2 separate regions of the Homo sapiens genome follow, and region 2 is linked to region 1. The links are contacts of gene promoters, found by promoter capture Hi-C in human tissues and cell types (Jung and others, 2019). All regions are on one chromosome and are shown on one strand. Each heading gives the region's core, a stretch centred on a gene start or on the middle of the fragment in contact. The rest is flanking DNA. Distances are from core to core; before and after follow the strand shown. Region 1 holds the start of NRBF2 (nuclear receptor binding factor 2). Region 2 overlaps ARID5B (AT-rich interaction domain 5B).

What was found. The method cuts DNA at HindIII sites, captures the fragments that hold promoters and counts their contacts. A contact is called where the count stands out against the background at its distance.
Region 2: a fragment that was not itself captured here is called in contact with the fragment with the promoter of NRBF2 in region 1 in 1 of the 25 tissues and cell types used here (aorta).

Annotation. Positions count from the first base shown.
Region 1 is chr10:63,130,988-63,135,873 of GRCh38, forward strand. NRBF2 (nuclear receptor binding factor 2) reads left to right here and starts at 2,341. Exons shown (of 4, transcript NM_030759.5): 1 at 2,341-2,513. The coding sequence starts at 2,484. RefSeq lists silencers at 2,158-2,407, 2,618-2,887. The HindIII fragment of the contact is 15,309 bases long and covers 1-4,886 here.
Region 2 is chr10:62,039,983-62,044,868 of GRCh38, forward strand. All of the region lies in intron 4 of ARID5B (AT-rich interaction domain 5B), which reads left to right. Among named protein-coding and RNA genes, the nearest start is that of ARID5B, 140 kb to the left of the region's middle. RefSeq lists an enhancer at 1,197-1,256. The HindIII fragment of the contact is 4,679 bases long and covers 1-4,501 here.

The sequences.
Region 1 (4,886 bases), core at 1,091-3,590:
TGGAAGTCAGCGGCGGGTCTGTGATGGCAGCAAACAGCGGTGGTGGACGGTGAGTGAAAGCTCAGCTCAAGCTGTAACAAACATGGACCAGAAGAGTGTGCAGTTGCAAGATTTAATAGAGTGAAAACAGAGCTCCCATACAATGGGAGGGGACCCAAAGGGGGTTGCCACTCCCTGCTCGAATGCCTGGGTTTATATCCTGATCATTGTCCCTCCCCCTGTGCTCTCAGGCGATATATGATTTGACTATTTCTTTACCTTCTGCTTCTAGCCTAATTTGTATTTTAGTGAGCCCTCTTTACTACCTGATTAGTCGGGTGTGAACTGAGTTACAAGCCCTGTGTTTAAATGTGGGTGTGGTCACCTTCCCCAGCTAGGTTTAGGAATTCTTAGTTGGCCTAGGAAATCCAGCTAGTCCTGTCTCTCACTATCTTGTCCACTTGGTTGTTTACTTTTTTATTTTTTTATTTTTAGAGACAGAGTCTCTCTGTGTCACCCAGGCTGGAATGCAGTGGTGTGATTGGTCTCAGCTCACTGCAACCTCTGCCTTCCAGGTTCAAGCAATTCTCCTGCCTCAGTCTCCCCAGTAGCTGGGATTACAGGCACGCGCCACCACACTTGGCTACGTTTTAGTGCTTTTAGTAGAGATGAAGTTTCACCACGTTGGCCAGACCAGTCTCAAACTCCTGGCCTCAAGTGATCTGCTCTCCTTGACCTCCCAAAGAGCTGGGATTACAGGGGTGAGCCAGTGTGCTAGGCCACTTGGTTGTTTAAATACGAGATTTGATTCTTCCATTTTCTGTATGCTTTACTGCCATTCCATCACTAACTCCTCTCAACCTGATGCCCAAAAATATATCTTGAATATATCTACTTCTCTTCCAAGGTTTCCGGCACATGGTAGAAACATGATAACTATGTAATGAGTGGATGCATGACCCAATCTTCCCTACTTCCATTCCAGTCTGAGCGCCCATAATTAGTCAATCAACTAGCTTGTCTTGGTTCTTTTTCCTTAGGCCTTCCACAATCTATTCTTCACATTACAGGGAAATTAATCTTTTCAAAACTGTAAATTAAAGCAGATTATTCTCTAGCTTAATATCCTTTACTTATTTCCCAATGCACTTTGAGTAAAATTCAAATGTTTCATTGTGCACTGCAAGGACACCTATGTTTTGGAAGTTTCCTATCTCTCTGGTATCTTCTTTTGCATCTCTCTGAAATGCTGCAGCTCCCGCCACCCGACCTCCCCGCCTTTAGAGTTGAGGCATAAGACATTTCCTTTGTCGAGAAGGGTCTTTGTTTAACTGGCATTTTAAGGTTTAATCTTAAAGATTACGCCCTTAGCCAGGTGCGGTAGCTCATGCCTATAATCCCATCAGTTTGTGAGGTCCAGGAGGGCGGATCATTGAGCTCACTTGAGCTCAGCAGTTCAAGATCAGCATAGGCAACATGGCGAAACCCCATCTCTACAAAAAATACAAAAATTAACCTGGCCTGAGCACTTGTAGTTCCTAGCTACTTAAGAGACTGAGGTGTGAGGATCGCCTGGGGCAGGGGGCGGGCAGAGGGAGGTTGCAGTGAGTGGAGATTGCGTCAGCAAGACACTTTCTCAAAAAAAATCACGCCCCCCATGAAAGGCTTTCCTTTACCACCCAACTCCACCTTGGTTACTCTATCACAGCTCCCTATGTGTTCCCTTTCCAGCATAAATCACAACTATTTGTCAGTGAATTCCATGACAGAACGAACCTAGCTTTTGTTTGGCACATAATTGTTAAATGAATGCAGTATTATATTTGGCTAGACCAAAATTGTTTCCCTATCAGTTTGTGAGCAACTTGAGGGCAGAGCCCTAAATCATTCGAGTGTGCTGACCTCTAGGGGGGTTAGTCCAGTGCATGGTCTAGAATTGCTCAAATCGGCCTTTTGAAAAAATGAATCATGTACAATGATAAAGGTGTGGACAGGACCACAAGTAACGGTGTAACGATTAGCAGATTTAAGGAAAAGTCAGTCTAAAAGGAAACGTGAGAAGCTAATTGCAGAAGACAGCCATTTCAAGTCTTCAACAGCAAGGCTGTACCTCCTCACGTGACTTCAGTGTAGACTTTAAGAACCTAAACTAACGCTTCTCGCGAGAGGAAAGATTGACCGCTCGCAAGCGTACATCAGCTGGTGCCCCGCCTTCCCTGGGCCCCACCCACTGCCTGTCCTCATTCCCACCTTGAACCAGCCTTTTGCGCGTGTGACGTCATGGCGCCGTGCGTGGCCTCGGCGGTGGCGCAGGGGGCGGGCCCGCGGCGCGGCGCCGGAGGAGGAAGTGGTGAGGTTGTTGCTCCTTCAGCGCCTATCGCTGGCTCTTGGGGCGCAGAGAGGGGCCGCAGTCTCCGCGGCTGCGTCGAGCTCCCTTGCAGTCCCCTCCATGTTCCCCGGCGCCACTACTCCCCTTCCTAAGGCCGCCGCTTACCCCGGGGTCTATGGAAGTAATGGAAGGACCCCTCAACCTGGTGAGTGTCCCACAGAATATAGCGTTCGTCTTGGGTGCCTTTGCCTCAGGAGCCCGGCCCCGTCCCCGGCGCGTCGGCTAACCCTTTAGGCTGGGAGGTTGGTTTGGCAGGAGTGGTCGCAGAGGCTGTGAGGGGCTGCTAGGCAGGCCCTGGCCCAACTGCGGCTCCAGGCTAGCCACTTCAGACTTTGCCCTCCTGGGGGATCCCCGGGAAGTCCTGGCGCCCCCTGTCGCGGGGCCCCGGGCGAGGGGATGCCACCACCTGGGGCTGCCACCTCCTCTCTGGCTGGGGGAAGTCCTCTTAGCGCCACGTAGCCACCTCCCTACAGCCTGGAGAGGCACTGAAGCCGGCCAAGGCAGAAATGGTGTGATACTGGTTTTAAGTTCTAGCAGCAGGGTCTGAGTCTGAGTCGCCCCGCTTTGGAGAGGTGGAGGAGTGAATAGCCTCCTCACCCTCCACTTCCCCCTCCTCACCCTTCACTTCCCCCTCCTCACCCTCCACTTCCCCCTCCTCACCCTCCACTTCCCCCTCATTTCTCACATACATTCACATGCATAAACTGAGTCTACCGTCTTCCAAATATATTAGAGACAGCTGGGAAAAAGACAGCCGTTCCTGTATTTAGCTCAGATTCATCAATTTAGGCATCATGAAAGTGTAATAGGTGTTTGCTGTTCTCAGGAAAATGGCTGATAGCCTGTTTACTTGTGTTTTAAGGCGTTTCAGGTGTTGCAATTAAAAAACAACACAACAGAACCCCACTAACAACGGGAAGCATGAGTTCTTTTCAGACTGGCCATTGCATCTTTTAGTTTTCCAGAGAGGTTACCCATTTTGGATGTAAAAGTCAGATTACTTAAGGTTGCACACAGGAAGAACTTTTGAGTCACAGGTTTGCAATTCATTTGCGATGGTGGAATTGAAAGAAAGCTCTATAGAGGATTCTTTTCTCACATTAGAACTCTGAGTCCTAGAAGAGCAGTAGAGTCAGGTGGTTTAAGACTCTAGGTTTTGAAGCTATGCTGCTTGGATTTGAATTCTAACCTCGTCACTTGATATCTGTGTTACCTTGGGCAAACTACTTGGCTTCACTCGGCTTCAGGTTTTTTGGGAGGATTAAAGGAGTAAATAGGTGTAAAGCACTTAGAACTGTACTAAGTACATAGTACAGTGTAAGAGTTAGCGATTATAACCAGACCATAAGCCCTTAATTTAAAATCTATTTGTAGAATAAAGGTTTGGACTTGAGCTTTAAAAGCCTAAGATTCTCGGACCAAATCACTGGTGCCAGGTTAACTGTTGTGAGGCGCCCCTCCCTTTTAAGTTGGGTCTTGCCCCAGGTGGTAGGTATTTACACTTAAGACGAATTGGACTACATTTGCGAGTTTTTTTTAACCAGGGAACTGGCCAGGCGCCGGGGCTCACGCCTGTAATCCCAGCACTTTGGGAGGCCGAGGCGGGCGAATCACTTGAGCTTAGAAGTTCGAGACCAGCCTGGGCAACATGGCGAAACCCGGTCTCTACAAAAAATACAAAAATAGCCTGGCGTGGTGGCGCCCGCCTGTGGTCCCAGCTACTCGGGAGGCTGAGGTGGCAGGATCGCTTGAGCCCAGGAGGTGGAGGTTGCAGTGGGCCGAGATTGTGCCACTGCACTCCAACCTGGGCGACAGAGCGAGACTCTGACTCAAATAACCAGGGAACTGTCTTGCACTTTTCTTGTTTTTAAGGCGACATATAGTTGGCAATGAAATACAGTGGATGGCTCAATACTGAAACTTCACAGGAGTATTACTAGAAATAATCAGCTGTTTACGAAGTGCTTCAGAGTTCAGGTGTCCTTGCCAAATGAGCATTGGTTCAGTTCTAGTTAGCTTCACATTATTTGGCTGCAGAATAACCCCCGCCAACTGCCCCACGAATGTGTGATGTTTTAAAAGGAGACTAGAACTGGGTGACAGTTGCAGATAGAACTGCAGAATCACTACCAGTTCAGGAAAAATTAGTTAAATGGTGGCAATACCATTTAAATTCTCCTCCATAAAACGGAGCGAGTTTCGACAGAGTCTTTTTAAGCAGGCTAGCGTAACTCCGTATTTCAGCCATAAAATTTATGTAGGCAAGTATCAGAAATTTGGCATCTTGAATTCTTTTTTTTTTTTTTTTTTGAGATGGAGTCTCTCTCTGTCACCAGACTAGAGTGCAGTGGCGCGATCTCAGCTCACTGCAACCTCCGACTCCCTGGTTTAAGCGATTCTTCTGCCTCAGCCTTCTGAGTAGCTGGGATTTCAGGCACGCGCCGCCACGCCCAGCTAATTTTTGTATTTTTAGTAGAGACGGGGTTTCACCATGTTGGCCAGGATGGTCTCGATCTCC
Region 2 (4,886 bases), core at 912-3,411, 1.1 Mb before region 1:
TCCAAGCAACTAAAATCACTCCAGCTCCATTTTCTCCTATTCAGTTTGTACTGGATGATGAAAATGGCTTACATTATACCCGACCCATATTGACAGCAGGAGAGAACAAGTCATGAAATAAATAATTAGCTAGTTCCTTCCCCTCTCTCTCTCCATTCTCACTCTCTCTCTCTTTCTGTCTCTTCTCCAGTCTGTTGTCAAAGCTTAACATTTACTTTGACATCTTAGTTAAGAAAGTTAATGAAATAACATCTTCATCAGGGCCATTTAGTAGCCTTGAGTCAATGATTACCAGATTTGAATTTTACAGAAGGGAGACCTCAGCTTAAGAAAAATTTTTAGATACTATTATAACATTATATATATATATATGTGTGTAATGTGTATATATAACTATATATAACGTTTTTACATGACTACCCTCCATAACAGTGAATAAAATCTTAAATGTATTGAAACATTGAATCGTGACTTTTGCTGATTATTCTAGCTTCAGATGTTAATCTTGTTCTGTCTGCTCCTTAACACATATTTCCAAGAACATATCTATAATCATAACATTGAATTATTGACTAAACCAGCATCGCCCAAGAGAAAGATAATGTGAGCCACATGTAATTTAAAATATTCTAGTAACCACATTTTAAAAGGTAAAAAGAAACATGTGGAGTTAATTTTAATAATATATTTTATTTAACCCAGTATATTCAAAATATTATCATTTCAATATGCAATCAATATAAAATGTTATTAATGAGATATTTTACTTTTATTTTGTATTAAGTCTTGGAGATCCAGTGTGTATTTTACACTGCGGCACATCTCAATTTGGACTTGACATATAGTATTTCAGATACTCAAGGGACACGTGGCTAGCGGTGACTGTATCAGACACAGCAATTCTAAATAGTCATAGAAATGTTTTATCTTACAGTGAAAAATGTAAAGAAGCTGTAACCTCTTCTGGGTTCATTGTTAGCTTTACATTAGGGTTTCTGATGGTATCTGTGTGCTGTTTCTCTATAGTGTAACAAACCCTCCCTCCAATTGAGTGATCACTCTAGCTTGCCCCACGGCTTATAATCTGCCCTTAGTTAACATGTCACCAGGTATTATCAACCTTGTTGCTGCCTCTCCACGCCCACTCCAGGCCCCAAAGCTCTTCTCATTCTGTACCCTCACCCCACCCTGCTCCAAGACACACGCTCTTCTATACAATCTGTGAGTTTGCATGAGGTTCTTGGTACCACAGAAGAGTTTTTAAAGTCATTTTCCAGTATCTTGGCTCCGGTACCTGCACAAACAAATGAAGCTCAGAGACCACTGAGGTACTTAGTTGGGGATGGTGCTGGTGCCCTCATAGGGAGGAAGGGTGAGAGGGATTTGCCTGAACAAAGAAAAATGTCTCCGAATCTCAGACAACCAAAAATAGTCATCTTTTTACTTTTAAGTAAAAGACTATCCTACTATTCACATTATTCTTTCTGAAAGGTATAAAAGCACAAAGTGAGTGAAAAGCCCCCTTTCTGTACAAATTCCTTTTTGGATCTTTTTAAAAGAATTGGGAGCCTATCACTTGATAACTGTTTCTTATGTGTATGTCTTTTAAATATTAAAATGTATCCCATGACATACTCATCCAAGTATGTCATAAGTTAAATATCTCCATGTTAATCCACATACACACCAAAACAAAAACAAAAACAATCCATCTCTTTTACTTATTTCCAAGTGGGGAATGTTTTCTGTAGAGAGGTAGCAAATCAGTTATCCTCAATGATGAAATGGAATATCTCATTTCCAAACCTGGAGAAATGGCTGAACAAGAATGTCCTGTTTATAAATGAGTTTAAAAACTGTTCTGATATTTACTGCTCTTACAAGGCTATTCAGTACAAAAATGTTGCTTTCACTTCTGTGCTGTCATGTTCAATAGTAACACCAAAGAACATATCAATCATAGACTAGAACGAGCAGATTTATTGATTGTAACAAAAAGAAAAAAGAGAGAGACAAAAAATTAACTCTCTTTGTTTAAGAGGTTCTATCTGTACAACCTTCAGAAATTGTGGAAATCAAAATGTCCTTAAAACACATTTCCAGAGCAGATCCTTAAACAGCCTTAAGAAAAAAAGACAATTATCTTGTTAATATTATATTTGTATTATATAGAACCATACCAAGAAAGACTAAATCTGTATTTATAGAAGAGTTTTCAAAAAATGAAAACAGGAGCTATTTCAAAGTCATAAGAAAAAAACACATAGTATAGCATTGAAACAACATGCTTATTCTCATTGTAATAGCTTCTGTGCATGATCTCCATTGAGAGAGGAGCCTGGGGCCTGGAAATGGCTCGTGGACACCTGGCATCTGGAGAGATGAATAGGAGAAAGGAGTTGCCAGGTAAATGTGAAAGTGGGAGTTTGAGCCTTGATGGCATTTTGAGAGTCCACTTTTGGTTTTACTGAATTTGTGACTTGACAGGACCTTGCAGCTAGCTGGTGGGTGGCATGGGCTGAGAAAACAGACCCTTTGCGTGCAGTATCAGCTCCTAGATAGCACCACCGCCACACCCTTAGGTGTGAGCTAAGTCCTAAGATGTCCGCTCTGCCCTGATGTCTCTTTATAGAATATGTGGAATTCTGGCTGTGCGTCGTGGCTCACGCCTGTGGTCCCAGCACTTTGGGAGGACGAGGCGGTTGGATCACGAGGTCAGGAGATCGAAACCATCCTGGCTAACACGGTGAAACCCCGTCTCTACTAAAAATACAAAAAAAAAATTAGCTGGGCTTGGTGGCGGGCGCCTGTAGTCCCAGCTACTCGGGAGGCCGAGGCAGGAGGATGGTGTGAACCTGGGAGGTGGAGCATGCAGTGAGCCAAGATCGCGTCACTGCATTCCAACCTGGGTGAAAGAGCGAGAGTCTGTCCCAAAAAAAAAAAAAAAAAAAGAATATATGGAATTCCAAGACAAAGGATTCTTTCCATAGGCTCCTGATCCTCAGGAAAACCTAGGCTGTGGTCTTGTCCATGCTATGGTATATAGACCCCATTATCCCAAAGATGCATAGGCTCTTGCACAGCAGCCATGAGCTACCACGTCCACTTCTTACAAGGGGACCCTCCACCAAGAATGGTTTCCCCTGGAGGATATTGCAGACAGCCAAATAGACCAGAGAGAAGGTGAGAGTTGGAAAGGTCTGGCATAGATTTCAATCTCTTTTCCTATTTCCAGAATTCTCCCCTTAGAGAGTCAATCCTCTGAAAAGCCAGACTGTCTCCTCACTCCTAGATTCAGCTCCCAGATTTTCCCCTTGTTTCTCAAGCAGTAGTGAAAAGCATCTATAATCCCTTTCTTCTTTGCCAGTGTGTTTGTGGACACCCCTATTATACAGACTTCTAGAACATTTTTATATTACGTTGGAATTCACTACATGATTTCAGAACAATATTTAAATAACGTGATCATTTACATTTCTCCCTTGCCTCAAGACACAGTGGGGGAACAAAGATAGAAATCTGCCTATCACTGCTGGTAAAGCTGACTTCAAAAAAGGCTTGCTTGTGTTTTAATGGCAAGAATGCATGGAGTCACATGCTTTCAAACCAATTAGCAATACAGATGAGCTAGGAAGTCCTGTTCCATTTATGGGTTGGGGGAAGGGTAGAAGTAAAATAATCTGTTTTTAAGTGTTTCTGAGAAATGAAGACCTCCAGGGCAGAGAGAGACGGCGGATCAGGAAATAGCTATGCAAATCACATGCCTAAGAAATTACTAAAACCTTGATCAGGAGCATTAATAATTACTCCAGCATTCACAAGTATGAAACAGAGTGAGTAAGACTGGGCATGTATTGGAATGGATTACAAAAGTGTTTACTTACATGGTTTGTTGAGCAGTCAATGAAGTCCATGGCTGTTTTGGACTTAAACTGCCCAAGCAATCCAGGTATAGCAAAGGCAGTAATACATTACTCTCATTGTTGACTCTTGGGGCTCTCAATGATTTTGACAAAGAGGCAAAGTGACGACCTCATATGAAGCCAGCTTCTTTTTTTTTTTTTTTAAATGTTCTTTCTAACACCACAACTGCTCACCCTTCCAGGAGGAAGAACAAGCACTTGGATTCTGTGAGAGCAGAGTTCATTGGAAATGCTAAATTGTAGTTTGTGGTTCAAGCAGTGTAGGGGTATGACTTGGGCAAAAGCACACTTGGAAACTCAAAGTCCAGGTCTTTATATCGCATGATATCCAGTGTGATGAGTGTAAAATTTCTCTAGGGCACATCCATCCATTAGTGATTGGGGTTGTCTGCTCTTGATGACATTTGAACATGAAAAGTGTTTAAATCTGGCTCTAGAATTTGGGTTCCAGACTCTGGGTTCATTTGCTCTTTTTTTTTTTTTTTTTTTTTAAGAGACAAGGTCTCACTCTGTCACCCAGGCTGGAGAGCAGTGGCACAGTCTAGGCTCACTGCAGCCTCAAACTGCTGAACTCAAATAATCATCTCACCTCAGCCTCCCAACTAGCTAGGACTACAGGCACATGCCACCACACCCAACTAATTTTCGTAGAAACAGGGGTCTCATTACATTGCCCAAGCTGGTCTCAAGTTCCCGGTCAAGCAATATTCCCACCTCCCAAAGTGCTGGGATTACAGTCATGAGCCACCACCAGGGCTTCATCTTTTTAATGCCTTTATCTGAGAAAAAATAATTACTCTGAAGAGGAAACTGTCAGAACAATTGCCAAATAATGAAACTTTTGCAGTATTGTGTTTCCATATCTATTGTTCAAAATTCATCATCAGAGTTAGAACGTCGCGCAGGATCAAGTTGTGCTTGTCAATGGCCCAGTGTGTTTATATCTCATACAATGCAATTGCT